Regions from separate parts of the Homo sapiens genome. Here all the other regions are linked to region 6. The links are contacts of gene promoters, found by promoter capture Hi-C in blood cells and fetal thymus (Javierre and others, 2016). All regions are on one chromosome and are shown on one strand. The core of a region is centred on a gene start or on the middle of the fragment in contact, and the rest is flanking DNA. Distances in the headings are between cores, read along the strand shown.

Evidence for each region. The method cuts DNA at HindIII sites, captures the fragments that hold promoters and counts their contacts. A CHiCAGO score of 5 or more calls a contact.
Region 1: a fragment that was not itself captured here is called in contact with the fragment with the promoter of NR4A3 in region 6 in 1 of 17 cell types (fetal thymus); the score reaches 6.0 in fetal thymus.
Region 2: a fragment that was not itself captured here is called in contact with the fragment with the promoter of NR4A3 in region 6 in 1 of 17 cell types (monocytes); the score reaches 5.9 in monocytes.
Region 3: a contact is called between a fragment that was not itself captured here and the fragment with the promoter of NR4A3 in region 6, in 1 of 17 cell types (total CD4 T cells). The highest score is 5.4, in total CD4 T cells.
Region 4: the fragment with the promoter of MSANTD3-TMEFF1 here is called in contact with the fragment with the promoter of NR4A3 in region 6 in 1 of 17 cell types (non-activated CD4 T cells); the score reaches 6.0 in non-activated CD4 T cells.
Region 5: a contact is called between a fragment that was not itself captured here and the fragment with the promoter of NR4A3 in region 6, in 1 of 17 cell types (naive B cells). The highest score is 7.6, in naive B cells.
Region 7: the fragment with the promoter of TGFBR1 here is called in contact with the fragment with the promoter of NR4A3 in region 6 in 3 of 17 cell types (fetal thymus, non-activated CD4 T cells and monocytes); the score reaches 7.9 in fetal thymus.

What each region holds. Positions count from the first base shown.
Region 1 is chr9:99,139,477-99,142,663 of GRCh38, reverse strand. TGFBR1 (transforming growth factor beta receptor 1) reads right to left here. Exons shown (of 9, transcript NM_004612.4): 5 at 1-128. Among named protein-coding and RNA genes, the nearest start is that of TGFBR1, 36 kb to the right of the region's middle. The HindIII fragment of the contact is 1,247 bases long and covers 627-1,873 here.
Region 2 is chr9:99,038,840-99,041,845 of GRCh38, reverse strand. It overlaps COL15A1 (collagen type XV alpha 1 chain), which reads right to left. Exons shown (of 42, transcript NM_001855.5): 23 at 1,290-1,325. Among named protein-coding and RNA genes, the nearest start is that of TGFBR1, 65 kb to the left of the region's middle. The HindIII fragment of the contact is 1,578 bases long and covers 671-2,248 here.
Region 3 is chr9:99,119,931-99,123,172 of GRCh38, reverse strand. The region is part of intron 1 of TGFBR1 (transforming growth factor beta receptor 1); the gene reads right to left. Among named protein-coding and RNA genes, the nearest start is that of TGFBR1, 16 kb to the right of the region's middle. The HindIII fragment of the contact is 663 bases long and covers 1,265-1,927 here.
Region 4 is chr9:100,440,189-100,443,433 of GRCh38, reverse strand. It overlaps MSANTD3-TMEFF1 (MSANTD3-TMEFF1 readthrough), which reads right to left and starts at 1,528. Exons shown (of 10, transcript NM_001198812.1): 1 at 1,078-1,528. The coding sequence starts at 1,495. It overlaps MSANTD3 (Myb/SANT DNA binding domain containing 3), which reads right to left. Exons shown (of 3, transcript NM_080655.3): 2 at 1,078-1,528. The coding sequence starts at 1,495. The HindIII fragment of the contact is 4,285 bases long and covers 1-1,597 here.
Region 5 is chr9:99,156,157-99,159,508 of GRCh38, reverse strand. No RefSeq gene overlaps it. Among named protein-coding and RNA genes, the nearest start is that of TGFBR1, 53 kb to the right of the region's middle. The HindIII fragment of the contact is 3,000 bases long and covers 274-3,273 here.
Region 6 is chr9:99,820,500-99,823,714 of GRCh38, reverse strand. NR4A3 (nuclear receptor subfamily 4 group A member 3) reads right to left here and starts at 1,830. Exons shown (of 8, transcript NM_006981.4): 1 at 1,308-1,830. RefSeq lists an enhancer at 600-1,112 and a silencer at 1,687-1,736. The HindIII fragment of the contact is 5,731 bases long and covers 808-3,215 here.
Region 7 is chr9:99,103,728-99,106,815 of GRCh38, reverse strand. TGFBR1 (transforming growth factor beta receptor 1) reads right to left here and starts at 1,703. Exons shown (of 9, transcript NM_004612.4): 1 at 1,514-1,703. The coding sequence starts at 1,610. RefSeq lists silencers at 976-1,485, 1,576-2,175. The HindIII fragment of the contact is 12,693 bases long and covers 1-3,088 here.

The DNA of each region.
Region 1 (3,187 bases), core at 1-2,500, 680 kb after region 6:
GCTCGCCGTGGACAGAGCAAGTTTTATCATTCCTTCCACAGTAACTGTGTATCTGTTTAAGTAATCAAAAAGGGATCCATGCTCATGATAATCTGACACCAACCAGAGCTGAGTCCAAGTACCATTGTCTGTAAAACAGAATTAACATTTCGGTTGGGCTGCAGACCATTTATGATTTATTTGTTCAATGGTTATTACTTTTTACTCTCAATCCTGAGTCACACACTGCAATATAATGCCACCTTAAGTCTGTATTTCCTTCACATTTTCTTCTACATTGTTTGTTTTATACTTTTATGTACACATCCTTTAGTTCCTCAGAGTAAGCCCCTCTTCTTGAGATAAGGCAAGTATAATTAATCCCATTTAAGAGACAAAGATGGTGACTTTTTTGAGTCTTCACAGATAATTGGTATCAGAGCTGGCACTCTTAAGTGCCTAGAAAAATCTCTGGGTCGGGTTGGGTGCTCAGTGGCTGTTCCTGGAAGGAGAGAAGGTTAAAAAAAAGGAAGGAACAGAGAGGGAAGCAAGGAGGTGAGAAGTCTCCGGAGACCAGTGTGGCCACAGTGGGAATGGAAGAGTATGGGACAAAACTGAAAGTGAGTTTCAACAAGAAATGACAAGCTTTAGTGACAGATTGTGTACACAGTTCACAAAGACGCAAGACAAGATGATTATGATTCCAAGGTTGCTAGCTTAGAAAAACAGAAATAGTGATACCTCTAACACATGGGGAAGCTGAAATAGGAACTGAAATGTCAGGAGCAAAACTGGAAAAGCTGGGACTAAACTCAAACAACGAGGAACGTGGGTTCCAAAATTTCCTCTGTAAGCCAAAACACGAGTTTAAAACATGTTTTCTCATAGGAATAATGGTAAAGACACTAGCTAGGCTCCTAAGCTAGACTGGTCCACGACAATCTAATTTAACCTAGAAGTAGCTGGAAAACCACATGCTTAATTAAGCCATGAAGAAAAAAAGCATTACAACATTAGGAGACAGCACAATCCAGTAAAAGATGGACGCTTAGAGTCATTCTAACCTGGTTGGAATCCACGGCCTGCCTGTTACTGACAAGGAGCCTGTTTCTCCTTTTATACAAGAATAAAGTCTTACTTTGTAAGACTGTTAAGATTTAAAAAACGGAATGCTAGATTCTTTAGGTAAGAAGTACATAAACTGTGCTCTTTCTTTCCCTGCTGGTTGTAAACCAAAAGAAAAAATCCATATTGACATGAAACAGCTTCTATTTTGAAGGTATTTGGTTGAAGAAGAAAACCAACTCTGATTAGAAGAGATTAAGAAAGGAATAGAAACTTTTCAGAAGATTCTGGAGGAGATTTCTGGGTACATTTAAAAGGACTTAGTATTAATTTGTTCTTCATGAACTTTATAAACTGATTCTGACCAAACTCGCACCCTTGCTTTTCCTTGATATAGGCACATCACTAGCTTATTTGCATGCCTCTTAACCATTACTGAATTTTGAAAAGCTCACAAATACAAGAAACAAAGTGGAAGACAGGCAGATGGAAGAAAGGGAAACCACAGGTTATGGACAAGATAGAAGGAAGGTTATATGTAAGGGGCCATAAATATAAAGGGCTGCCGGGGGTGGAATTAACTAAATCAGGAGAAGATAAAGGAACTGAGGTGGAGGGGCTAGGCTCAGAGAAAGTACATTAACCCCTGACAAAGAAGAAAGAAGGGGAGTAGGGAAGAGCCAGTAGGGTCAGCTAGTTCCCATGGTGACCACCAGATGACAGCATCAGCCTGGTTAGAAGTTCAGGGCACAGACTCACCAACATTTTGTGCTGCTGTGTTTGTAACTTGGAATGTGACAAAATCCAGACCCTGGGTGAGGTTTAAGCTTTCAAATGGAGATTTGAGAGTTGCCAACATGGTAGAGTTTGAAACCATGAATGTGGCTATGTTCTTAAGGAAGAAATTACCACTTATAAAATCAGTACCTTCATATGAACCAGTGAGAAGAGTAAGAGTTGAGAAAACAAAGACAACTATGAAGAAGTAAGAAGGAACAAGGAAAGTCTAGGGTCATCAAACACAGTAAATAAAGAAAAGGTTGTTTTAAGAGTTGGGGGAGGAAATAAATGGTGATAAAGGCAGAAACGAAAATGAGAACTAAGGATTTGGTCAGACTGATTACTATTTTTTGTTTTGTTTTGTTTTGTTGTTGTTTTTTTTTTGAGACAGAGTCTCCCTGTGTCGCCCAGGCTGGAGTGCAGTGGTGCGATCTCAGCTCTGACTGCAACCTCCACCTCCCAGGTTCAAGCAATTCTCTGCCTTAGCTTCCCAAGTAGCTGGGATTATAGGCACCTGCCATCATGCCTGGCTAATTTTTTTGTATTTTTAGTAGAGATGGGGTTTCATCATCTTGGCCAGCCAGGCTGGTCTTGAACTCTTGACCTCGTGATCCACCCACCTTGGCTTCCCAAAGTGCTGGGATTACAGGCGTGAGCCACTGTGCCCGGCCTGTTTTGTTTTTAACTTAAGAGGTATTACATTGTCAGGTGCCACTGATAATCGCTACCTACATTCATCATATACCTCACTGCCCCGTCTTAATCAAACACTATACACCTCCACATATGATGCAATAGGATGTATATAATATCCTTAGTATGTATTTTGAGAAAACCAATAAAACTCCAATTAGGTTTAGCTTCTAAATCTAACTACCAGTTTTCAGAAAAGATAGAAGAACAAGTTAAGAGACACTATGGAAATGCAATCAGCAAAATCCAGAATGTGATAGGCCCTTCAGGATAAACAATCCAATTTCTTCAACAAATAAGCTGCGAGAGGAGAAAAAAGATGAAGGGGGGACCTAAATTTTAAGACACATAAGAGAAATATCAACTAAATATAACTTGTGGACTTAGAATCATAATTTGAATAAATAATTTTTTTAATAGGAGACAATTATAGAATTGAACCTAACTGGATATTTGATAACATTTAAAAAACTGACAATGGTAGTGTGGTTGTTTCATAAAAACATTTCCTCATCATTTGAAGATACAAATTACATTTTATAAGTGTTTACAGATGAAAACATATTGTCTGGGACCAGCTTCAAATAACACAGTTAGGGCAGAGTAGGTGGGATCAGACATCAATTATGATTGGCAGTGACCTGACAACTGTTGAAGCTGGACGATGAGG
Region 2 (3,006 bases), core at 210-2,709, 780 kb after region 6:
TTAAGAGGCCTTGAGGCTTCACACTTTTTTGAACATTGGTTTCCTCCAACTGGGCACTACTGATCCAGCCTATTATCTGGGCCTGCTGCATCTGCTTGCCCCACGGCTCCTCCAGGCCACCCTGCAGCCCGCCTCCTCCACTATCCCCTTCCACGACTCCCACCCCTTCTCTGGCTCCCCACTACCTATGAGATGGGACCCAGGTACCTTAGCCTGGCACCCCAGCCCATCCCAGCCAGGCATCAACATCTCATCTCCCACACCATCAGGTTGACTCCCTTCCCGCAGCCTCTCTGCACTCCTCCATTGCTTCTGCACCAGCACTCATGCCACCCCCCCCATAGGAATGCCCACCCACCCCTCTGCAGAGCCAAATCCACACATGCAGCCAGAGGCAACCTCTTCTCAACTCCAACAGACACTGAATGCCTGTGACAATGACTCACACAGCCACATCTGCCTCAAAAAGGCATTTCAACACTTTATTGCTATTTTAACTTTTCACAAGTTCCTGTCTTGTCTGGATGAAAGAGTGAATTACCCATTACAGCAGTGGCTTTCAACTATTTGTTATTATTGTTTAGCAGTGAAACTCTTTTCCTTCCTTTTTTTTCCCCCAAATAAAGTCTTAAATGAAAGCCTAATATATACAAATATGTCCAGTGAAGCTTCCCTTATTGAAGGTCAGTGGCCTGGAATGTGCCTATTTGGCCCCCTCCTTACTCCCTGCAGTGGAGGTCCTGGAGGCTCTCCTGCAGAGCCTGGGACTCCCTCAGGAACACAGGACCACTCATTTAGAGGAAAGTGTGCTCTGAAATGTGCCCCAGGTCTTGGAGCAGCCAAGCCGGGGCTGGAGCTTAGGGGTTTGGCCTTTTCTTCTGCTAACCAAGAATCATGGTCAGAGTCATGGTCACAATCGTGGTCATGGTTGCCATTCTCTCTTTTGTTTTTTAACGTCTAGTTAGCACTATTTTTAGTGTTATCATATGATATGTGCCTTTAGAAAATGTAAAAAGTTCAGAAAATCAGCCAGGCTCAGGGGCTCATGCTTGTAATCCCAGCACTTTGGGAGGCTGACGCAGATGGATTTCTTGAGCTCAGGAGTTCCAGACCAGCCTGGGCAACATGGCAAAACCCCATATCTATCAAAAATATCAAGAAAAAGTTAATGAACAAGATGCCCCTGGAGCTCAGTCATGCATAGATGGAGGAAATGCCATTCTAGGTGGAAGGAACAGAATGATCGCAGCCACGGGGCACAGATAGAAGACAGCGAGGGTGGTACTTACTGGAAATCCTGGCAGCCCAGGCAACCCGTCCGGCCCCTGTGACACACCAAAGATAGAGCACGCTGGATTAGGAGCGGCATTTCCAGAGTCAGCAGGACCCCCTCCCTCCCAGCCCCTTCCAAAGGCCTCAGCATGTTCCCACAGCTGGGAAGACGGATTGACACAGCATTAGGGAAGAAGGGGCCCTGTGAGGGTCTGGATTTGCCAAGGGGAGGACAGTGACTGGAAAGAAAGCAAGGAAGAGAGAGAAGGGGTGGAGGCATGGTAATGCAGGCAGACAAGGCCCAGGGACTGTGAGGACAGGGATGCCCAATCTCTGGTTTTAGTCTCTCTGTGTTTTGCTTCAGTATCCACCCACCTAATATCAGAAACCTCCAATAGCTTGGGGAAAACAAAGACCCCTTGGGAAGAAACTTTCACTTGTTAGCTGGTTTGCTCTAGGGTTTCATTATTGAGGTATTTTGGATTATTGGTTTTCATAGAAATCAAATGGATGCAGTACAGAGGAGACAGGAAGATGGCTCACAATGAGGTCACTCAGCAGGGGAGAAACCTGGTGCCAGAAGAGTCTGCAGATATTTGCAGGAATCTTGGGGCAGCACTAGATTTTCCCCTGGATCTGGATGAATGGGATTCAGGGCAACCTCATGGGGATCTGCAGGAGAGGCAGGGACATCGGCATTGCACAGCTGTGAAGGCATAAACCTGTCTCCACAATGACTTGCACAGAGCGTCACAGTGTGCTAAGCAGTTTCACATCCCTCACTTCTTACAAGTTGCCTCAAAGGCTGGTGAGGTGTCATCAGAGAAGAGAATTAGGGGCTCAGAGTGGTGTGTGGAGAAGATGGGGCTGCAACCTCAAGGCTCCTAAGGCCAGAGCTCCTTCCTTTCTCCTGTGCTGACCAGCAGATGCTGGGAGATGCAATGAGTATTTATTCTACAGGCTGTAGGAGGAAGCTTCCTTCATCTTAGGGCCATTGTGCCATGAGTCAACTCTGCCAACTTGCAGAAATAATGTATATTTTGGTTTTTTTTGTTTGTTTGTTTTGAGATAGAGTCTCACTTTGTCACCCAGCCTGGGGTGCAGTAGTGCGATCTTGGCTCACTGCAACCTCCGCCTCCCAGGTTCAAGTGATTCTCGTGCCTCAGCCTCCCAAGTAGCTAGGATTACAGGCACATGCCACCATGCCCAGCTAATTTTTGTATTTTTAGTAGAGACAGGGTTTCAACATGTTGGCCAGGCTGGTCTCAAACTCCTGATCTCATGATCTGCCTGCCTCAGCCTCCCAAAGTGTTGGGATTACAGGCGTGAGCCACCACTTCTGGCCAAAAATAATGTGTATTTCTTATATACATTATAATCCCATTTTAGAGATCTGGAAATTAACACACAGATAATTTCCAGAGTTCTAAAATGGGGCTATAAAGACTAGAATGAGTCCATTTCTTCCTCGTTTCCCTTGAGCACAAGGAAAGGTGTCTCCAGGCTCTTCCTATACTATGAAATAAGATAATGTAAATAAAAGCAGGCCAAAAGTGTGCAACAGATGTCATCTGTTTGTTACTTAGCATTCTCTAATTTCCATGACACATATTGCCGGTGCACAGGACTGGAAGCTTCCACTGCTTTGGAGACAACTTTCCACATGATCAAATTAATGTGAAAGCAACTTTTCAAAAAATGCAAAGCTTTCTTTCCATTCTACTTTGATATATT
Region 3 (3,242 bases), core at 347-2,846, 700 kb after region 6:
AGATTACAAGTTGAGTATCCCTCATGCAAAATGCTCAGGACCAGAAGTGTTTTGGATTTGGGATTTTTTTCAGATTTTGGAATATTTGCATATACATAATGAGACATCTTGGGAATGGGACCCAAGTCTAAGTATAAAATTCATTCATGTTTCATATATGCTTTATATATATAGTCTGAAGGTAATTTAATATAATATTTGAAATAATTTTGAGCATGAAACAAAGGTCATGTTAAGTACTTATGTGCAGAATTTTCCACTTGTGGCATCATGTTGGTGTGCTCAAAAGGTTTTGAATTTCAGATTGGGATGTTTGACTTGTATTCACTTCACCATCACTGTAATTATTTGTCTTGATAGCTCCCTTGCAACTATAACTTAGGTTAAACAAGGATTTCAGTGTGATTCAGCACTAAAAGGAAAAGCTACTGTGTACACAGAAAATTATATCAGAACCATGCCAGGAAATACAATTACTAGCAGTGAAATTTCCAAATATTGCAGAATAAATCAGAATTTTCAAAGTTTGCAGATGTTAGCATGGTGACAGTTAGTACCAAAGGAAGTGACATGAGGAAAAAGAGACAACAGGACCCTTGGGGTTATTATTCATGGTATTATAGTATCGGGGTAACAACTCTCGGGGTAACATATCCCAAGTTGAGATCTTGGCTCTTGGTCCCAATATAAAGGATTTCCTTGGTTGCCTCATTTCAGTACGTCTCGAGGTCACATATGGAAGCACTATTAATTCTATCTAATGCCAGGGCTACCCAGGGTTAATTCACAAGCCCATATGTCTTGCTAGAAAAGCTGAGAGGTAAACAGTTGTGTATAGTATTAATATATGGAACAGATATTTCTATCACCCTTGTTAAAGAAATAAAAATTAGCACCGAAACCTTGTCTTCCCAGGCTTAGTGTGTCATCATCTACACAACCTACCCGTAGTCTTTTTATGCATACGCTTGAATACTCTTTCCTTTTTCAACCCTTGTTACTGGCCCTCTCCAGCCTTCTATCACCCATCTTCCTCCAGTTCAGAGCTCAACTGAAATCTCTCTTTGAAATTCACTAGCAATGCCCTTCTGGTCAAATTCAATATTCTTTTCAAAACGTTTCAGGATATGAGACAGAGTACCACCCTTTCTTTATTAGTTTTTATATGACACTAAACTTCCCAAACTTACTTTGCACTTGGCCCTTTGGTACATCTCAGATGTACATCTCCAAGCCTCTTGGCCTTTTACCTGTGCTCCAAGCTTGTATTTTAACTACATCCAGGAAACACTCTGCTTGGCTTACTTATCTATGCAAAGTCAAGCAGAGTGTTGTAATCCAGTTTTTTCATCACTCTGACTTTGCTGGTGATGACCCTTATTTTCCTCACCCTACCCACTACAGCACAACTATACTTTTCTTCGCAGTGAGAGTATTTCCAAATATTACAAACATGTACCAACAGGCAAGTAAAAGACCTAACATGCACAATGTCCTTTATGCAGTTTGCTTCACTACAGCTGAAAGCAGATCACATCACTGCTGGCAAAGGTGAAGGCAAAAGTTGGAAGTTATTTAAAAAAAACTTTCAGGGACTAATGTCAGCCCCTTTTATCATCCAACCTATTCTTCTACCCCAGTTCTTCTGAGTAATCTGCCTTACCCCTTTTCTCCATTCTCAACACATGCCCCCTTCTCAAGGAGACGTGTCCTCTTTTCTCCCTCATCCAGCTTTGGAGTAAAGCATACTATATAGATTCTCCTTTTCTTTTTATTAAATATGTTGCTTATCTCTGTATACATGGCTAAAACCCTGACCTCCAATTCCCTCCAGCCTACTATCCTAGGTTTTGTTCCTCAAAATACTCAGTTCTTCTCAATTCAACCCTCCTGGGGCTACCTTGCAGCAGTAATATCAAAGTAAGCTTGTCAAAATAGAGAACACCATATAATGTACATAAAATTTTCCTCTAGTCCAGATAATATTTCACCCCTGAATTTAGGGCATCAGAATAAACGCCTGATTTTTTTCCAGATAAATTCCATTTACTTCTGCCACTTTTAAAGAATTTAAGATGCATTGTTTATCATTTAACCCACATCACATCTTAAAAGAACAGGGCACTCCCAAATTCACAAGCTCTTGTTTTTCCACATTATCTTCATTTTCCAGTCTCCTAGTTTCTATGGAATTAGCCAATATAATGTTAACTGATATCAGAGAAAACACACTAAGAATAGGCTGCCCAAATGGCAAGATGGGATTTAACAGGGTAACTAATACAAAGGCTTTCACTTAGATTCGAAATAAATCACACAAGTACAGCATAAAGATCTGGTTAGCAGATCTGAGGAGTTTAACAACACATTTTAGAAGAGTCAGAGCCTTTAAAAAGTATCTTTTAATCCATCAATTCTACTACTTACAGTTGTCTGAGGAAACAATAGGTGAGAGCAAAAATCTAAACTTGCAGATGTTCATTACAGTATTTTATGATTGAAAACAACCTATGTGAATGACAATACAATGACAGAATGAATCCTTATACAATCATAAATGAAAGACTATATAGCCATTAAAACTGGTATTTTAGAAGCATGTTTAAGGACAAGGGAATGGTCCTACTACTAAAGGGCAGGAAGTAAAGCTGTATAGTGTGATTACAATTACAGTCCTGTCAAGTGACCTTGTTTTTGTTCCACTTCAATGAGTTGAGGGGATATTTTAATATACAGAGCAGATGTGCACACTTTGCCTTACCCCAGGCCCTGAAAAGAAATGGAGAAACTTCTATGTCTAAAGGTGAGTGCTAAAACAATAACCAAATTTCTTATTTCCTCTCAATCTAAGTATGCTTTTACACAGTTTCTTATTAGATTTTAATTTGACTAGTGGGTAGGTATTATAAGGATATGGTAGTTAAGTTGATGGAACTCAGAGACAGAAAAACTTAAGTTAAAATCCTATCTTTGCCAGTCAGGCACTGAGTAATCCTGAGGAAGTCACTTAACTTATTTGAACCTAAATTTCTTCAACTTACTTCCTAAATTTATAACATACTAACAAACAGTACCAATCTCAGAAGGTTTGAGGGTTAATGAAATAACATACATAGAATACTTAGCACAGTGCCCAGCACATAATAAAATGTTCAAAAATTAGTTTATGCACTTTTTCAACAAGTATTTCTTTGGAGCTCCTATTACGTGCCAGTCTCTGGTCTAGATGCTAGACAGAGAAT
Region 4 (3,245 bases), core at 279-2,778, 620 kb before region 6:
TTTAAAGTTTGAAATAGTTCTTTTTTTTTTTTTTGAGATGGAGTTTTGCTCTTGTTGCCTACGCTGGCGTGCAGTGGTGCTATCTTGGCTCACCACAACCTCTGCCTCCCGAATTCAAGCGATTCTCCTGCCTCAGCCTCCCAAGTAGCTGGGATTACAGGCATGCACCACCACGCCCGGCTAATTTTGTATTTTTAGTAGAGACGGGGTTTCTCCATGTTGGTCAGGCTGGTCTCAAACTCCCAACCTCGGGTGATCCGCCCACCTCAGCCTCCCAAAGTGCTGGGATTACAGGCATGAGCCACAGAACCCAGCCGGTTGACTCTTTTAATATGGCCTTTTGAGTGGCCTACTGCAATGCTTTGCAAATAATAAGGACCTCCAAAAATATTTTTTGAAAAAAGTGAAATTGAGTGGATGAATACAAATCTTCATACAATTCTCTTTAACATATTTGAGACAGGCTGATAGGCAACTGCAGCACCTCACTAATAAGAACTCCATTAATCCAGTCCCTTATTTTTCTTTATGTTTAAGTAATAATAAAGTCTCCAAGAGAGCTAGCACAATGATGTAAACAAGTACTTTTGTTTTTATATATTACTTTTTTTTTTTTTTTTTTTTTGAGACAGGGTCTCACTCCGTCACCCAGGCTGGAGTGCAGTGGCGCAATAACAGCTCACTGCAGCTTCCACCTCCTGGGCTCAAGTTATCCTCCAGCCTCAGCCTCCCGAGTAGCTGGAACTACAGGTGCATGCTACCATGCCCAGCTAATTTTTTCTATTTTTTGTAGAAACAGGGGTCTCACTTTGTTGCCCAGGGTGGTCTCAAATTCCTGAGCTCAAGCCATCCTCCCGCCTCAGCATCCCAAAGTGCTGGGATTACAGGCACGAGCCACCACGCCCACTTCTATAAGACTTTGAATGTCCTATATAATCCTGAGATCTTGAATTAGGAAAATTGGATTTGATACAAAAGTTTCATTTTTAGAAGTTCCCTCAAAGTGGAGGGTTTTAAAATTAAAATGTCAAACAGATACCCAGTGAGAGCGTGCACACTGGCATCAGGAACGGATACCTTGGGCTGAGGCGTCGGGGTGGTATTCGGGCTCCTCCTCCGGGGGGCTCTGCAGGAAGTAGAGCTGCTCCGGCAGCATGCTGGCGATCTTCTCCTTCCCTAGGACGTGGGTACTCAGGAGAGGGCTGACGCTCCGTTTCACTTTCTCTCTCCTTTCATGGGCCATAATTTTTTTGGTCCGAGCCTTGATGTTCTCCCAGCACTTCTTCAGCTGTTTGAAATCCCGCAGGGACACGCTGGGCTGAGAGTTGTATTCGTGGGCCAGCGCCTGCCAGGTACGCTGCTTAAGGGCAATAGTTCGCGCATCACTTTTCTTACATTCCAGCACATATTTATACTTTTCTACTAAAGCCAGCAGGATGCTCTTTTCCAATTCTGAGAAGTATTTGGCAGGCTTTATAATTTCGTTGTTTTGCATTTTCCACTGTATTTCTCCTGGCCGCTAGCTATCCTGTAAAAGGAAGTTTGAAGCAATGATTACCAACTCCAGCAAAAACAATGCCTATAAATCACTGAAGCTTAATTCCTGACTTGATTCCCTTGTCTGAAATACAGTACTTTCTTTTCCATTAAGGTTGAATTATGATATTCAGGACTCTGGAGAATATTTAGAAATGTACTAGGAATGGGGTTTTATTTCAAAGTGGATTGTTGTGGCTATACTGTGACTATCTGGTATATAACAGCAAAAAAAGAAAAGTTGAACATTTTTTTTTTGAAACGGAGTCTCGCTCTTGTCACCCAGGCTGGAGTGCAGTGGCACGACCTGAGCTCACTGCAACCTCCACCTCCCGGGTTCAGGCAATTCTCCTGCCTCAGCCTCCTGAGTAGCTGGGATTACAGGTGCCTGTCACCACGCCCGGCTAATTTTTTTTTTGTAGTTTTGGTAGAGACAGGGTTTCACCATGTTGGGCAGGCTGGTCTCGAACTACTGACCTCAAGTGATCTGCCTGCCTCGGCCTCCCAAAGTGCTGGGATTACAGGCGTGAGCCACCACGCCCGGCCTAGACTCTGATTTGTTAATTGATTTTTCTTTAATATTAGGGAACTGATTATTCCCCCAAATCATGTTAGCCAGTTTTAGAACTAAACAGCTTTCCAAAACTTTTGTCACAGCTGAGGACAAAAGAAGCCACCGTGTACTCAAATATAAAATATGATGTGGGAGGCTGAGGCAGGCGGACCACGAGGTCAGGAGTTCCAGACCAGCCTGACCAGCATGGTGAAACCCCATCTCTACTAAAAATACAAAAATTAGCTGGGCGTGGTGGCGTGCGCCTGTAATCCCAGCTAGTCAGGAGGCTGAGGCAGGAGAACTACTTGAACCCGGGAGGTGGAGGTTGCAGTGAGCCAAGATCGTGCCACTGCAATCCAGCCTGGGTGACAGAGTGAGACTCCATCTCAAAAAAAAAAAAAAAAAAAAAAGATGTACAGCCGGGCACAGTGGCTCACACCTGTAATCCCAGCACTTTGGGAGGCTGAGGTAGGTAAATTGCTTGAGCCCAGGAGTTCGAGACTAGCATGGGCAACAAGGCAAAACCCTGTCTCTAAAAAAAAAAAAAAAAAAAAAAAAAAAGGGAAGAAAAAGAAGAAAAAAAAATAGCCAGGTGTGGTGGCATGCACCTGTAATCCCAGCTACTTGGGAGGCTGAGGTAGGAGGACTGCTTGAGCCCAGGAGGTCGAGGCTACAGTGAGCCATGTTTGCACCACCGCACTCCAGCCTGGATGACAAAGGAGACACTGTCTCAAAAAAAAAAAAAAAAAAATTTGACGTTTTCATCACTCTGTGGCATGTACCTGGAGCAATGGCAACCTCAGTTTTTTCATCTTTAAAATGAGGGGTTGGAGTCTGTGATCCTTCAGGTATGCGGGCTGTTTTTTAAAATCCTAAGTAAACAATGTATGTAATTTCAGATGTGAAAGGGCCTAGGCACTTAAGAGACTGAGTCCAGTGTCCCTCTTTACATTCCTCAAGTCTCTTTCCAGCTGAGAGAAGAAAGGGTCAGAAAGGTGAAGTGGATTGCACAAGATCACAAAGATGGTGACATAGAAAGTCCAGAGCTTGGACTGCCCTAGGAGTCTGGTATTCTTAGAATCATTCCACAGCTGTTTCTCGGCCTCTTGCCTTGGGTCACTCCAAATGATTCAACCATGATTCCCATAAGTCA
Region 5 (3,352 bases), core at 524-3,023, 660 kb after region 6:
TGATGGGCGAGAATCACTTGAACCCGGGAAAGTCGAGGTTGCCCGGAGCTGTGATCGCACCACTGCTCTCCAGCCTGGGTGACAGAGAGTCCCTGTTTAAAGAAAAAACAAAAAACAAACAACAACAACAAAAACTGGCAAAGGCGAGTTTTACTTTTTTTTCCTTTAACAGACGTATTGAGATATAGTTTACACACCATAAAATTTCCCCATTTCATGTGCACAATGTTTAGTAAATTTACGGAGTTCTGAATCCATCACCAAAATCAAGCTTTGAAACATTCTGTCACCAGTAGAAGGTCGTAACTGCAAGTTGTCCAGATTCCTGGCGTTTTGAACAGAGTTGAACAAAACGCCCAGCAAAGCAAAGAAAGAATGAAGCAACAAAAGAAGGAAAGCAGGGATGTATTGAAAACAAAAGTACACTCCACAGTGTGGGAGCAGCCTGAGCAGCTACTCAAGAGCCCCCAATACAGAATCTTCTTTGGTCCAAATACCCCCCAGAAGTTTCCCATTGGCCACTTCATGCATACTTCATGTAAATGAAGTGGTAGCCCTCAATCAGTCTGATTGGTTGCAGAAAGCAGCCAACCAGAGGCTGAAGTTACAAAGGTCACACTCCTGTGCAAACATCTGATTGGTAAAGGCAACCAATCAGAGGCTACGGTGAAGTTACAAAGTTATACTTCTGTGCAAATGAAGACTGACTAAGCCTGCAATCAGTCTGGTTGATTGTGGACGGCAACCATTCAGAGGCTGGAGCTAAGTCACAAAGTTGCAAACGAAGACTCCACTGGTACTCAGTCTGATTTGTTGCAGACAGATTTCCCATCTGCAGCCTCTGGTCCTTTTTTTACTTAGGCGTGGAAAGTTAGGGTTTTCCTTTCAATTTAGTTCTAGGAAGTCAGGGTGAAAGAGCCTTAGGTTCCCTGCCTCCAGACCCTATTCTCCTGCCTCAATTCCCATCATCCGAAAAAGCTCCCTTGTGCCTTTCTGCAACCTTTTCATCCCACTTCCTTCACTTAGCATGAGGGTTTTGAGGTCATCCACATTATAACAAGGATCAAGCAGTCTTATAAACCATGGTATAAATACCTTACCTCTTAAATATCAATTCACCAGATGATGGACATTTAGCTTGTTTCCATTTTTGACTATTAGGAATTATGCTGCTGTGAATATTCACCTACAGGTCTTTGTGTGGACATATGTTTTAATTTTTCTTGGATTAGAGTTGCCAGATTTAGCAAGTTAAAATACAGGAAGCCGAGTTAAATTTAAATGTCAGATAAACAATACTTTTTTTTAGTATAAACATGTTCCATGCAATATGTGGGACAAACTTATACTAAAAAATTGTTTTTATCTGACACACAAATTTAACTGAGCCTCCTGTATTTTATCTGGCACCTCTACTGATACCTAGAAATGATATTACTGGGTTACATAATAGGTTTCTATTTAACCTCTTAAGATACTGCAATCTGTTTTCCAAAGGGACTGTTTACATTCCAGCAATGTGTGAGATTCATCTTTTTCTCATCTTTATTGACACTTGGCTATCTGTCTTTTTAAAAACTATAATCATTTGAGTGTGTGAGGAGTGGTTTCTCATTGTGGTTTTAATTTCATCTAGTCTTTATAAAGAATTATGTTTATTAGCCATTCATATATCTTCTTGGGAAAATGTCAAATCTTTTGACCAGTTTTTATTTTTACTTTTTTTGTCACAGTCCTACACATAATTCATGGTATTTAGAGCTTCACTTTATCAACTGTTGCCGAATTACCATTTAAACATTAATACCCAAATACAGAATTTAGAATTAACTCTACCATACCCAATCTCTGAGCAATGAATTTGTTCACCAATTTTTAATTGGGCCATTTGTATTCTTATTGAATTGTAAGAGTTCTTTATATATTCTGAATACAAATCTCTTATCAGATGTATGATTTGCAAATACTTTATGCCAGTCTTTGGCTCATCTTTTCATTCTCTTGTTTTTTAAAGCCCCAAATATTTTAATTGTGGTGAAGTCCAATTTATCAACTGGTTTTTAATAAATTTTGCTTTTGAAGTCCTATTAAAATCTTTGCCTAACCTAACATCACAAAGATTTTCTCCTGTTTTCTTCTAGAAGTTGTATAGCTTTAGCTCTTACCTTTAGGTGCATAATGAGCTGAGGGTCTAATTAACTTTCTTCCTTTTTTCCTTCCTTTTAAAATACAGATATCCAATTGTCTCAGCACCATTTATTGAAATGACTGTCTTTTCTCCTGTTGAATTATCTTTGCACATATCTTGAAAGTCCGTTGGTCGTCTGTGAGGGCTTATTTCTGGACTCTTAATTCTGTCCTGTTGCTGTATATGACTGACTATCCTTGTGTCAATAAACAGTCTTGATTATTGTTGCTTTACAGTAAGTTTTGAAACTGGGTAAGGCAATTCCTCCAATTTTGTGCATTTCAAAATCATTTAGGATCTTTTAGACATTTTGCATTTCCATGTTAAGTTTTAGGATCAGCTTGTGAATTTAAAGAAAAACCTTTCTGGAATATCGCTAGGGATTGAGTTGAATCTATAGAACAATTTGGGGAGAATTGCCATCATAACACTGTTGAATTCTCTAATCCATGAGCATGGAAGTTCTCATTTAGATCCTTTGATTTCTCTCGGCAATATTTTTTCAATTAAATAAATGTATTATTATATTCTTTTTGACGCTATTCTGAGTTTACTTTTGAAGGTATCGTTCATTGCTAATATAATGTCAATTTTTAATATTGATTGTGTATCCTACAACCTTGCTTGCTGAATTAGGTCTTGTAGCTTCAAAAAAAAAATTTTTTCCGGTGGATTCTTTAGAATCTGACAGGTAATATTTCTTAATAAAGACAGTTTTACTTTTTTCCCCAACCTAATGTCTTTCTAGTCTTTTTGTAGGGAGAGGGAACAGGGACTGGACAGAACCTCCATGACAACATTGAATAGAAATGATGAAAGGATGTTCTCGACTTGTTTCTGATTTAAGGAGAAAAGTATTCTTTCACCATCAAGTATGTTGGCTGTGAGTTTTTTATCGATGCCCTTCACTAGGTTGAGGAAGTTGCCTTCTATTTCTAGTTTGCTGAGTTTTCATCACGAATGGGTGCTGAATTCTGTCAAATATTCTTTCCTTTGGCTATTTAGTTATTATAATAATATGGGTTTTATTGTTTCTTCTATTAGTATGGTATAATACATTGATTTTTTTGATGTTAAATGAAGCTTACAGTCCTAGGATATGGCCCATTTGGTCCTGGTGTATAAATCCTTTTATCTGTTGTTGGATTCAGTTTCCTAATATTG
Region 6 (3,215 bases), core at 581-3,080:
GCTGTGGCCTAAGGAGGCTTTGATACTAACTCTGCGAGCATCTTGTTCAGCGAAAATAACTCGAATAAAGTAACTTCATTCATTGTGCCCATCAGCCACGTTAGGCAGCTTTTTCTTTCCCTAACTTGATTCTATAAAATATTTCCCGGTCGTGGGAAAAGGAGATCCGGCACTGGACTCGCGATGGAATGACGGCTCCCTGTTCTTCTCTCCCAGCACCACAAGGCCCTGGGATCACAGCCCGACATTTCTGATTACTAACTCCTCGCAGCTCTTCCCTCTGGAGAATCCGGACGCATAAATAAATAAAAGGCAATCTCCAAGAACGTTTTTGGAAATCAAGGGACAAATGCGTTCTTCCTCACCACTGCCCCGAGGCTTCCAACAGGTTGGAGAGGTGCCTTTGGAAGTCAGTCTCCGCAGGCTGCGCTCGCATGACCGCTCTCGTCTCACCACCGAGAACTTTCATTTCTACTAAGAGTAAAACACTCGGAGCAACTTCTCCAAAAGCGCGAGTTCTGTCCGTGAAAAAGCATGCCTTTCCCACACCGAGCCAACGTCCAGAGGAGAGGGACACCGTCCCCACACGTGTCAGTGTGCGGGAGTCGCCAATTACACCCGATTTACCTCCTAAGGGAAAAGTGTAAACCGGCATGTCAGCGACGACAGGCAGACGTGCCTAGTGGAACCCCAGGCTCATTTCAATACAATAAGCCACATTCCTACAATTACGCCCTCTTTCCTGAGGTCCTCCGAGTGCGTCTGCAAACTCTGGCCGTCGCTGCCTAGGCCCTTCCCTCCTAAGCTTCCTTCCAGAGAACCAGCTCGGTGCCACCATTAGCAACATTTACTTGGACCCACCAGAGCTCCTATTTTCAATCCTACTTAAAAGGCAGGAAAATTACTGCCGTTCATCACCGGAGCTGCAACTCCCTGCCGCTGCCGCTGCCGCCGCCGCCGCCGCCGCCGAGAGCATCATTACCATGACAACTAGAGCCGAAATACCCTGAATTACATCGCTGGAGCCGCTATAGCACAAATCCCGGTCCTCCTCTTTGTTAGAGGCTTTTCGCCTCTTCGAGTGGGGGGAGGAATCCCACGAGCTCCAGAGATCCCCGCGGGCCCACTACAGGGGAAAAGTTTCAGATCAGAACCTACGGGCCGCTGGGCTAGCAAAGCCGGAGCCGGGCGGCAAGGTCAGGGGAGGGAACCCCACACTCAAAGTTGTCAATTTCAGGAGCGACGCTTCCCAGCAAGCCAACTTTTTTAGCAAGTCCCCTTATTAACTGGGCGAATCTCATACGTACTTGAGTGCTGTGGCGGTTCCGTCTTTAGAGCGAGTTTCTAGAGAGCTGTCCCGAAATCTGCACTGGGGGGGAGTCACAGCTGCTGTCCCGGAAGGGCTGCGGTGTACAAGCCCAGCGGCTCCCGGAGGCGGTGAGCGGCTGGTGGGGGATGCTGCGATCCCGACTCATGGGAGAGCACAGCCGAGAGGTTCCGCGGGCGTCCTGGCTTGGGCTGTGACCAGGGGGGAGGATGCCGCCGCTGTTCCCACCTCCACGGCCACTGCCGGCACCGTCAGCGTTGCAAAGTGAGCCCGGGAGGGGCGTCCAGCTGCGGCGCCGCGCTGCACCGGCAAGGGCTCAGGGCAAGAGGGGTGTGAGCGCGCGGGAGAGCGAAGTGTGTGTGCGGAGCCTGTGTGCGCGCTTGTGTCTGTGTGTGCGAGTGAGGGAGCGGGTGTGAGCGCGTCTGTGTATGGGGAGCGGAGGAGGAGCAGGAGCTGGAGGGGTGGGGGGCGGGAGGCAGGAGACTCCGCTCTCCCGGCTGCGCGTTCGCTCGCTCTCTCGGCACGTCATTTATGCCACAGGAGCCCTAGCGGCCTCTCCATAGAGTGCCTGGAATGCGAGACGTCAATGTGACGCCATGGGACGCTACGTCACCCTCCTCCTCCCTCCCCTGGCCCAGCCGGTTCCGCGTGTGCGAGGGAGGGTGTGTGTGTTCGTGTGCGCGCGCGCGCGCGCGCGTTCCTCGGCCAGTCGCACGGCCGCACAATGGAAACTCCGCCGCACGGCCGGCCCCGGCCTGGGGGCTTCTCTTTTTGCAGCGGAACCGCTCGCCAGGGCGTGCGTCTGCGGGAGGGTGCAGCGGCCTGCCCACGGGTCAGGCGGGACCGCCCAGCTGTCAGGCTCGGGTGGAGTAGAGTTGGAGGAGTGCTGCTGGCGCGCCTCCGAGGCTGCCCCGAGGCACGGAGCCAGGGCGAGGGGGGTAAGGGAGAGGACAGCTCTTCCGAAAGGGAAGGCTCCGCCAGCCAGCTTCTGACCAGCTCCAGTGACCTGGCAGCCGGTGCAGAAGGCGTCTGGCACCAGCCCGAAGACGCCCTGAGGTGCAGCTGCACTTTCCTCTTGCATAGGTTCTAAAGCTGTTTACGTTGCTCCGGTCCTCTGCGCCCAGGCTAATCCCCCCTCCCCGCATCATTTACTGGGTGCGTGTTTCACACAGGGATGCAGATGGTTCCGGGGATAAGGTTTGATTTCTTTACACGTACGGCGTGGGTTTCTTAACTGGACACGTTATAACCCAGCGAAGTGCACATCCATCATGCACACGCGCGCTGCAGCAGAAACTACTCTGTGTGTAAAACAAACACACACGTGTTGAACAGCTGAGCGGGTCTGACTATTGCAAATCATTCCTCCTCCCCGGCACCGGGTCAGAAATGGAACTCTCAACTAGCACTTTCACTTTTTGATGGTTGTAGATGCCCTCCGCCCACATCTCCCAAATTAAACATTTCGAAATCAATCAACAGGACTTATTAGTCAGTCCCTCGCTAGGGGATTTGCTTTGGTCTCCTCGGACACATTTGTCATGAAATGGTGTGCCGAAAGCCTGGGTGACTGTATGAAGGAGAGCAATTTCTTCCTGGAAATGATAAATTTAAGTGTAAATTTCTTGATGAAAACAAAATTTATCAGAGTTAAAGACCCCTAGTCCCAAAGGTTGCTGCTGAGTGAACGCAGTCTCTTTCAGAAATGAATTTTTGGACAGGAGAAAATATTTGAGTGAAACAATGCAGATAGAGTGGTCCCCATGTGGTCCGCTTGAATCACAAATACCGTTTTATATGTTTGACCTGTCCCAATTTGTGTGTGTGTGGCGGGGGCGGGGGGCGCTGCGCCGAGGGGAGATACAAGATTCCTTTGTAGACAGCACAC
Region 7 (3,088 bases), core at 454-2,953, 720 kb after region 6:
AATCATGAGGACAGAATCCAAAGTGGATAATAAAGACCAATTGCTCATCAGACGACTGAAGAAGAAAAATGGGCTACGCCAGATAGTATGATGTATACATATTTATATATATATATGACATACAGGTTTGGGAAACTGAGATCTGAGTGAAAATCCTAGCTTTAGCACTTAAGTTATTGGGTACTTAACGTGTCTGTACCCCACTTTGCACATCTGTAAAGTGGGGCAAATGCCACTACTCCTGGGAGTTTACTTGTGGTGATTAAATAATGTAATTATACAATAGTGTATGCATTTACATCGTAGTAATGCACAATACATAGACGGTAGCTATTAGGACTGATTATAATCGTCACCGTCAGTCTTGATTTTTTAAAAAAATTTCAACATCTTTTGTCCAGTTTCAGAAACAGAAATGTACTTTCACTGCATTTTAGTTGCTAACACTGAGGCTGTGTATTTTAGCTTCTAGTGTCTCAGTTCAGCTGCTAACGAAGTTTTTCACTCATCCCTTTGTGGATACCAACCACCTACCCCAACCTGATTTACTATTTTGAAAAATCCAGCCAACAGTCTTCCTTGAAAACCAGCTATACAGATGTCTGAATCAAACTATTAACTGTCACTCAAGAAAAGGAACAACGTGAGTGATGTTCCTTCGAGGAAATAAAAAGCGTTTAATCAATTCACAGTCGTTCCCAAAATTTCCAAAACCCGCAGAATGAGCAAACGTTCAAGTTTCCACTATGAAAACAATCCGTAGCCGTCTGGTTACTGGACTCACTTCAACACTCCCCAGACGCACGAAAGAAGAAACATTCCGCGCATCTCCGCGCTTCCTTCTTCTCACACAAAGCCCCCCTGGCTGGAGGAGCAGCCCCTTCCAGCAGGGTCGGCTCGGGTCGAGCCGGGCGGGAGTCAGGGCGGCCTGCGGACCCAGGGGTCTCACCACACGTCGCCCCCGACTCCCACTGGACGAAGCCCTAGAGGCTCGGAGCTCACACCCCGCCCGGGAGCCGCCTTCCACCCCAACCTCAAACCCCGCCCCGGGTTCGGCAGCCTCTGGCACGGACCCTCTTGGGGCGGGGGTCCCCAGAACAAGGTCACGCCGTGCCCAGGGGGCGGCGGCGGGCAGCCACGGCTCTGCCAGTCCCCGCCGGCCTCGCACTCTCCGCCCCTGGCCCTCGCCCACTCACACCCCAGAGGGCAGCCCCGGACCTCGGACGACTCCGCCCGACTCCACCTCCCCGGGGAGTCCCGAGCGGGGCGGCCTCGGGCAGCCGGACACGTCCGCCCGCGCCCGGACACACGCCCCTGCCCCGCCTCCGCTCCCCGCTTGCGGTTCGCCCGGCAGCCGCCGAGCCGCGCGGCGCCACGAGAGCCCGGCCCGGGCCCCGGCGCCGCCACCTGCGCCCCCGGCCCCGCGCCATGTTTGAGAAAGAGCAGGAGCGAGCCAGAGGCCGGGTCCGGCCCGCGCGCCCCGCAGTCGCCCGCCCGCCGCGCCGCCGCTCACCCGTCGCCCCCGGGAGCAGCGCCGCCGCCGCCGCCGCCGCCGCCGCCAGCACGAGGAGGAGCAGCCGGGGACGCGGAGCAGCGACCGCCGCCTCCATGGTCCCGCCGCCACCGCCTGTGGCCCGGCCCGGCCCGGCCGCGCCGCTGCCTCACCCCAGCAAACCTCGCCTCGCCCCACCTCCCTAGCCGCCGCGGCGGCCTCGCTCCGGCCCTTTGTAACTGCTCGGAGGACGCGCGTCCATTGGCTGCCGGGCTCCCGCCGGCCCCGCCTCCCCGCCGCCGCGAGCTGCCAAGCGGGACCCAGCCGGGAGCCCCGCCTGCGGGCCCGCCAGGCAGCCAATCCGCAGCCGCGAGCGCCGGTTTCTGGCCACGCCCCACGCTCCCCGGGGGCTGGGCCGCCAGACCCCAGCCCCGGCCCGATCGGCTCCCGGCTCCGAGAGGCCGCGTGGGGGCGGGGTCTGCCAGCCCCAGCACCGCTCAGCCGCTAGCCCCGGAGGGCCGGGTAGAGCGATGGGTGTGTCTGTGTGAGTCTCTTTCGGAAAAAGGCTGTGGCCGTTCGACGCTCTTTTCTTCTAACCTCCTCTAGGCGCGGAAGATCTGGTACTGCCTCAGCCCCACCCTGACCCCATTCACAGCTCCGCATTGGCAATCCCAGCACATGCCACCCAGATCCGCTGCAGCGCCAGGCCCCTGCATCCACTTCAACTTCCCCTCTCCAAGTCCACGCATCAACTTCAGCATTCCCCCGAAGATCCCTCCTCAGTGCCCTTCACATGCGACTCACTCTCCTATTTCCTCCTGCTCCCAGCGGTCACCCCAAACCCAGCTCCCCCACCCAGTTCCAAACCCAGAAAGTCCTCAGATCCCAGCGTCAGACCCAGATCCTGAGCCCAAACACACCCCCAAATAGCCTCCCGCCTCCCTCCAGCACAGATCCAGGATGGGGATCCAAGCCGCACTCCTCTCAAACCCCTTCCCGATCCAGGTTGGAAAGGGAGGATCCCCACCCCAACCCCTCAAAGGAGGGGTTCCCCCTTCTTAGCACCCAGCTCCCGCGGGGCGGAGGGGGAGCAGTCATCATTACTTTGAGCTGTGTCTGACACTGCTGTATAATAATCCTGAGGTGTCACTAAAAACCCAAATAAACTCTACGTTTTCATTCTGAATTCCTAATTTACTGCGAGACGCTCCACCCACCTTCCCTCTGCGACGCCAAAATGAGCTCCAGATTTGTAATTCTTCCTGTCAGACTAGTCCTTTCTTCAGACACAAACACAGCCAAGGAGGCTGTTACGTAGAACAGAGAATATTTTTCCGCAGAACCTTTTAAGGAGGAAATTTTATTTTCTGTGTCATTTGAGCTTAGAATTAAATAAACCTTGATAGCAGGAATCAGAATGGTTCTGATTAATGCCAATTTGTGCACTACTTTAGAGTCACTGGGTGAGCATTTTCCCCACCTGTGAAGGCTTCCTTCCGGGAGATGAAAAGGGAAAAGGCGTGGATATTGGAGCTGGGATCTGAGACCCGCGCGCTTTCTCCCTCCTGTCTAGGACACTTACTTAAGCAAGTCAGC